2 separate regions of the Homo sapiens genome follow, and region 1 is linked to region 2. Evidence: promoter capture Hi-C in human tissues and cell types (Jung and others, 2019). All regions are on one chromosome and are shown on one strand. The core of a region is centred on a gene start or on the middle of the fragment in contact, and the rest is flanking DNA. Distances in the headings are between cores, read along the strand shown.

Region 1 (3,433 bases), core at 138-2,637, 330 kb after region 2:
ACATCACTATGTCCTTGTTTGTAAAATAAGGATAGTAATAGTACCTAAAAGCTTTGATGTTTAAAGGAGAAAATCTAGGTTTTCTGGTTATCAGTAAGTACTCAGTAACTGTTAGACATTATTATAATGATTACATTACAATGTTAATGGTATCTACAATTAAGTCTCAATGGAAAGTTAAGATTTCTTAGTTCTTTTATTAATAGATGACTACATCTCTTAATTCTCTGATTTTGAAAGTCTGAGATTGAGGAAAAATCAAAATAAACAGCCAGGCATGTGGGCCTACACAGGAAGCAATAATAAACATTTCTTGAATGACTTTGGCTTTCAATATTAACTCATTAACCTAGGAAAGAGAGTATGCAAGTAAAAGTATATCCATAAGACCGAGAACAACTAATAAGGTTTTTAGCCTAAACACTCGTTGGATTGAGATAATGAGTTTTGCCAGCATTGATAGAATGAGAACAGAACTTCTGTTCACGCAATGCAGTAGACAACAAAAACTGCCACATTAAAAACCAGTATATGCTGGGTAAAATATTACTATTCCTATTTTGTTAAATACAAAGCTGAGCCTCAAAGAAATGAAAGAAAATCCCCAGGTGAAGGGGGATCTCCAGAGCACAGATCATGGGTGGGCACTGAGGAGTCTGGGCTGGAAGTGAAAATGGAAGGCCATCTCATGCCCTGGAAACAGGTTCAGCTTTAATATCTATCTGTGACAAAGGACAAAATTTTCAGGGTAGATTACTAGAACCGTGTCTAACACACTATGTTAGTTATGCATAATTCTGCTTGCTACTTTTGTCAGTGCTATTATCTTAAGCAAGTGTTTTAATTTCTCAGTTCTCTTACCAATAAAATGGGATCACAATCCACACTAAGAATAAAATATCATGCTACAGGAAGCAGTGAAGCAAGGCTCAATGTGAGCAGTGGCAAGAGGGCCAGCAGGCCTGCATGGACCCTAAGGCAGTCGCTGAAATGGTGCATTGAGACTTGAAGGCTAAGACTACTTAAGAGTAAAGCTCACTCCTTCCATGAACCTAGGGAAAGTGAAGCCTGTGAATTTTACCAGCAGCAGACACCAGGCACAGCCAGAAGTGGGACTAATCCCACCTCCTCTGTGGCCACAAGGCAAGGGAATAATAGCTCAGACCAGCAAGTCATCAGCTGAGACCAGGAGGCATTCAGAATGTACCACAAACACCTGAAGACACCACCTGCCCCTTTTCCAACACTAGGTCAAATAAGCCACATCTACGTCCCATATAGCACCACACGCCACACCACAACGTTTAGGTCAAGCATGGACCGCTTATATGACAATGGTCCCGTAAGATTACAATAGAGGCCAGGCACAGTGGCTCACGCCTGTAATCCCAACACTTTGGGAGGCTGAGGTGGGCAGATCAACTGAGGTCAGGAGTTTGAGACCAGCCTGGCCAACGTGGTAAAACCTCATCTCTACTAAAAATACAAAAATTAGCCAGGTGTGGTGGTGCGAGCATATAATCCTAGCTACTCAGGAGGCTGAGGCACGAAAATCATTTGAACCTGGGAGGTGGAGGTTGCAGTGAGCTGAGATCACCCCACTGCAATCCAGCCTGAATGACAGAGTGAGACTCTGTCTCAAAAAAAAAAAAAAAAAAATTACAATAGAGCTGCCCAATACAGGCATATCTTTTGTCCTTTATATGGTATTTTTACTTTACCTTTTCTATGTTTAGATACACCAATACACATTGTGTTGCAACTGCCTACAGTGTTCAGTAATCTGCTGTCCCAGTTTGTAGCCTAGCAGCGATAGGTGTGCAGGAAGATATACCATCCAGGCTTGTGGAACACTCTACGTCTACAACCGTCACACAATGACACTGCCTAATGATGCATTTCTCAGAACAAATCCCTGTGGTTCCGTGACGCATGACTGTAGGTAGATGCCATCCTGAACAGAAACAAGAAAAGAAAGCACGCCTAGAAAAAAGCTTCAACATTCTGTTACATTAATAGCAGACACTGAACTTTCTTTTAAATTTTAATTTGCTGTTTTTGAAAAACAAGTATAAATTAACTGTTAAGGACTATATTAGTTCCTAGGGCTGCCATAACAAACTCCCACACACTGGGTGGCTTCGAACAACCAAAATTTCCTGTCTCACAGCTCTGGAGGCTTGAAGGTTAATATCCAACAGGGCCATGCTCCTTCGAGAATATCTACAGGAGAACCCTGATGCTGTCTCAGCATGTGATGGCATTCCTTGGCTTGTGGTCCAATCTCTGCCCCCATATTCACACCATATGAATAGTGCTTTCTCCAATGTGTGTCTATGTCTCTGGCTCTTCTTTTTATTATGTGGACACTTGTCATTAGATTTAGGGCCCACCTTGGTAATCCAGGATGATCCCTTCATCTCAAGATCCTTAACTAATTATAACTGCAAAGACCTCATTTCCAAATAAGGTCACATCAACAGGTTCAGATATTAGGATGTGGACATATCTTTCTGGGGGCTACCACCCAACCCACTATAAGAACGAAGGTTTAGAATATTTGAGGCTAGGTGCGGTGGCTCATGCCTATAATCCCAGCACATTGGGAGGTGGGAGGATCACTTCAGACGAGGAGTTTGAGATCAGCCTGGGCAACATAGCAAGACCCCTTCTCTACTAATTTAAAAGAAAAAAAAAGGGGGATACTTGAAATACATGATAAAACATGAGAGGGGCATTGTTTCCTCACTTAAACATCATTTTAAGGGTAACTACATTCCTTTCGTGAGCATAATAGCCAAATAGGGTCTCCATTTGTAGAAGATTAATTTAGAGGTGATAAAGTAAGTTTCCCCTCTGTTTCAGCTCTGCAAGTTTTCCTCAGTTAATTTAAATAGCTCCCTGGGTCTCCTTCTTCAGGGGAATATACATCTTCTTATAATTTCAGACTGAAAATTCTGTGTGAATTCCTGTGTCTACCAATTTCCTTTGTCATCATTCTTTCTTGCATCTTTCTTGTGGCATAAATTCCCTTCTTAAAATGCATTTTTAGAAGTTCCCTTAATGTGGAAAAATTAACTAGCTCGTATTTGAAAGAAGTTTTGCTAAGTGCACAGTTCAAGGTTGAAAATTATCTTCTCTTCCATGCTGACAGTATTTTCCCACTGTCTTCTGGTTTGCAGTTTCTGCTAGGAAGAAGTGTGTTTCCGGTCTAATTGTCATTCCTTTGTAGGTAATGTAATGTCTTTTTTTCTCCTGTTAATGTAAAGATATTCCTGTTTTCTTTGGTATTCTGGGGTTTCACTCCAATGTGTCTACGCATGGCTTTCTGCTTGGGGTCCATGGTGCTTCCTGCATCTGTGACTCTTTAATCAAGTCTAGAAATTTCTCAGCAACTATCTCTTTAGATATTGCCTCTTTTCACTCTATTTTC
Region 2 (3,369 bases), core at 759-3,258:
ACTTAAATCTCCTCCAGGCTGAAGCCACAGCACTCCTTAAAGCCTCGACCAGGCGGGCTGATAAGACCTTCAGGGTGCCGGGCTGGGGGCTGAACAGGAATTAAGTGTTCAGGTCCTGGGGCTTCACCACCACCCTCGCCCCTGTCTAGTGTCCTTGGCAACCAGCAAGTGCTGAGCCTCCTGTTGGTGCTTCTCCAACCCACCAGTGACTTGGCCCGCAAACCACCTGGAAAAGGAGTCTCCAGAGACCCCGGCGCACAGCAGGCCAGGAGGCAGCTGCCCCGGGATTCAGAGCAACCTCGGGGCAACCCTCCCTCCTCCAAAGGCTAATTCTAGAAGAGGCAGGTCCTCTTTCCTTCGATGTCAATGTCCATTATGAAACAGTAATTTTTAAATATTCAGGTGACACGGAGATGCGCCTGCTACACGTCAGCGTCCTTCACATGTAACAGCCGAAGCTGCAATTTGAATTTTCCTGCCAACGTGAGGAAGCCGGGATTCGAACCGGGGAGACAAAAGGGGTCCCGAACATGTCCTTGGATTTAATAGATGGTCGGAAATCAGGGGCAGCGGAGCTGTTAAATGCGTCACGCACGCTTCTTCGCAGTCTCCTGAGCTCGCCACTTCCCCCAGCTTCTAGTGAACGACTTGGGATTCAGCCTCCGGGAGGGTCTCTCCTCAAGTCGCTAAAATGCAGAATCGCCGTGCCGGGGGAGGGAGGCCTGGCTCTTTCCCGCTCCTTCGTTTCTTTCCCTCATTTCTCTTCTTCCTGTCCCATTCCAACCACCCAGCGACGGCGAATCTCAGGCGTGTGCACAACGAGCGGGGGCCCTTCCGTGCGTGTCCCCCCAGAATCCTTGAACCGCCCTCTAGGTGCGACCCTGGACGTTCCCCCAGACACACCCGTTGTCTCTGCGAGCCGGCAGCCCCGCGCATGTGGAGATGGAGACTGGCCTGGGGAAGCGTTAAGCTCTTAGACATATTTATTTGCTTCTTGTCATCACACCTGCTAATGTCACCGAGCCCGCAGCCTGACCCCTCATCTGAGCCGAAACGGGCCTGACGGGATCAGAGGGGGCGGCGGCGCGGCGAGCCGGTGGGACCCTCGCGGGCGGGCAGGGGAGCGCGGGGCAGCAGCCGGGCTCCGGCAGCCCTCGCCGCCCGCACCCTCAGGCCGCCAAGGGCCGGCCCCCCGGGGAGGGGGGCGAGAAGCAGGGCGGCCCGCAGCGGGGCGGGCTCATCCTTCGCGGGTGAACGGCCGTCGGAAACTCCCAGCAGGGCCCCGCACCCCTTGCCTTCATTTCGGCTGGGGAGGGGTCATGGAGGGGGGCCAGATGGGCGACGAACCTTCTTCCCCACCGCGAGCAGGGCCTGGCTGTGACCGAGCCCTCAAAATCATGTCCTTTGTAGCCGAGTTCAGGACAGGAGAACCTCCAAGTGGAGAAAAGCCGGAGACGTCAGTGACCCGAGTGAGACTGGCGTTGGAGAAGGGAGGGAAGGGGCTGCGGGAGGGGAGAGGCGGCGGGGAGGAGAGGCTGGGGCAACCCCAGCGCTGGCGTCGGCGGGGCTGGCGAAGGAATGAGAGCGAGCCAGCACGAGGCGGGGCGGAGACGCCAGGGCCACTCGGGAGCCGTGGGCGAAGGAAGGGTCTGCACGGGGTCCCGGGAGGACCCAGGAAGTCTGCGCGAACGGCGGGCGTGGGTCCGGAGGGCCCGGGGTGGGAGGTCTGCCGGGCGCCGGCGGCAGGCAGGTGGACTGCGGGGGGCGAACCGACGGCGGGCCGGGCGCCGGCGCGGGCGCAGGGCCGGGGCCCGGGCCAGGGCGGCCGGCGCGCGTGTGGTCAGCCCCGCGGTCCTCCGGCCTCCGGGAGCGGGCCGGCAGGGCTCGGCCTCCGGCTCATTCGGAGGCGGTTCTCACCTCCCATTGGCTGCCGCCGCTGGCGGGGCGGGGCTCCGCTGCCCGGAAAAAAGTGTAACTGCGTAAAAAAGTCCTCGCCTGGGTGACGGATGCTCAAAAGTTCAGAAGTTTTCCCAATGCTTCCTTAAGCGGCTGGCGCGCGAGAGACCGAGAAAAGGTGACGCGGGGCCCGGGCAGGCGGCCGGCGCGCGGCCCCCCCCCCCCCCGCCCTGGTTATTTGGCCGCCTTCGCCGGCAGCTCAGGGCAGAGTCTCCTGGAAGGCGCAGGCAGTGTGGCGAGAAGGGCGCCTGCTTGTTCTTTCTTTTTGTCTGCTTTCCCCCGTTTGCGCCTGGAAGCTGCGCCGCGAGTTCCTGCAAGGCGGTCTGCCGCGGCCGGGCCCGGCCTTCTCCCCTCGCAGCGACCCCGCCTCGCGGCCGCGCGGGCCCCGAGGTAGCCCGAGGCGCCGGAGGAGCCAGCCCCAGCGAGCGCCGGGAGAGGCGGCAGCGCAGCCGGACGCACAGCGCAGCGGGCCGGCACCAGCTCGGCCGGGCCCGGACTCGGACTCGGCGGCCGGCGCGGCGCGGCCCGGCCCGAGCGAGGGTGGGGGGCGGCGGGCGGCGCGGGGCGGCGGCGAGCGGGGGCCATGCAGGCGCGCTACTCCGTGTCCAGCCCCAACTCCCTGGGAGTGGTGCCCTACCTCGGCGGCGAGCAGAGCTACTACCGCGCGGCGGCCGCGGCGGCCGGGGGCGGCTACACCGCCATGCCGGCCCCCATGAGCGTGTACTCGCACCCTGCGCACGCCGAGCAGTACCCGGGCGGCATGGCCCGCGCCTACGGGCCCTACACGCCGCAGCCGCAGCCCAAGGACATGGTGAAGCCGCCCTATAGCTACATCGCGCTCATCACCATGGCCATCCAGAACGCCCCGGACAAGAAGATCACCCTGAACGGCATCTACCAGTTCATCATGGACCGCTTCCCCTTCTACCGGGACAACAAGCAGGGCTGGCAGAACAGCATCCGCCACAACCTCTCGCTCAACGAGTGCTTCGTCAAGGTGCCGCGCGACGACAAGAAGCCGGGCAAGGGCAGCTACTGGACGCTGGACCCGGACTCCTACAACATGTTCGAGAACGGCAGCTTCCTGCGGCGGCGGCGGCGCTTCAAGAAGAAGGACGCGGTGAAGGACAAGGAGGAGAAGGACAGGCTGCACCTCAAGGAGCCGCCCCCGCCCGGCCGCCAGCCCCCGCCCGCGCCGCCGGAGCAGGCCGACGGCAACGCGCCCGGTCCGCAGCCGCCGCCCGTGCGCATCCAGGACATCAAGACCGAGAACGGTACGTGCCCCTCGCCGCCCCAGCCCCTGTCCCCGGCCGCCGCCCTGGGCAGCGGCAGCGCCGCCGCGGTGCCCAAGATCGAGAGCCCCGACAGCAGCAGCAGCAGCCTGTCCAGCGGGAGCAGCCCCCCGGGCAGCCT

The links. The method cuts DNA at HindIII sites, captures the fragments that hold promoters and counts their contacts. A contact is called where the count stands out against the background at its distance.
Region 1: a contact is called between a fragment that was not itself captured here and the fragment with the promoter of FOXC1 in region 2, in 2 of the 25 tissues and cell types used here (IMR-90 fibroblasts and aorta).

Annotation. Positions count from the first base shown.
Region 1 is chr6:1,935,327-1,938,759 of GRCh38, forward strand. The region is part of intron 6 of GMDS (GDP-mannose 4,6-dehydratase); the gene reads right to left. Among named protein-coding and RNA genes, the nearest start is that of GMDS, 310 kb to the right of the region's middle. The HindIII fragment of the contact is 4,189 bases long and covers 1-3,433 here.
Region 2 is chr6:1,607,907-1,611,275 of GRCh38, forward strand. FOXC1 (forkhead box C1) reads left to right here and starts at 2,009. Exons shown (of 1, transcript NM_001453.3): 1 at 2,009-3,369. The coding sequence starts at 2,540. RefSeq lists enhancers at 1-53, 2,767-2,866 and a silencer at 1,817-2,436. The HindIII fragment of the contact is 11,200 bases long and covers 1-3,369 here.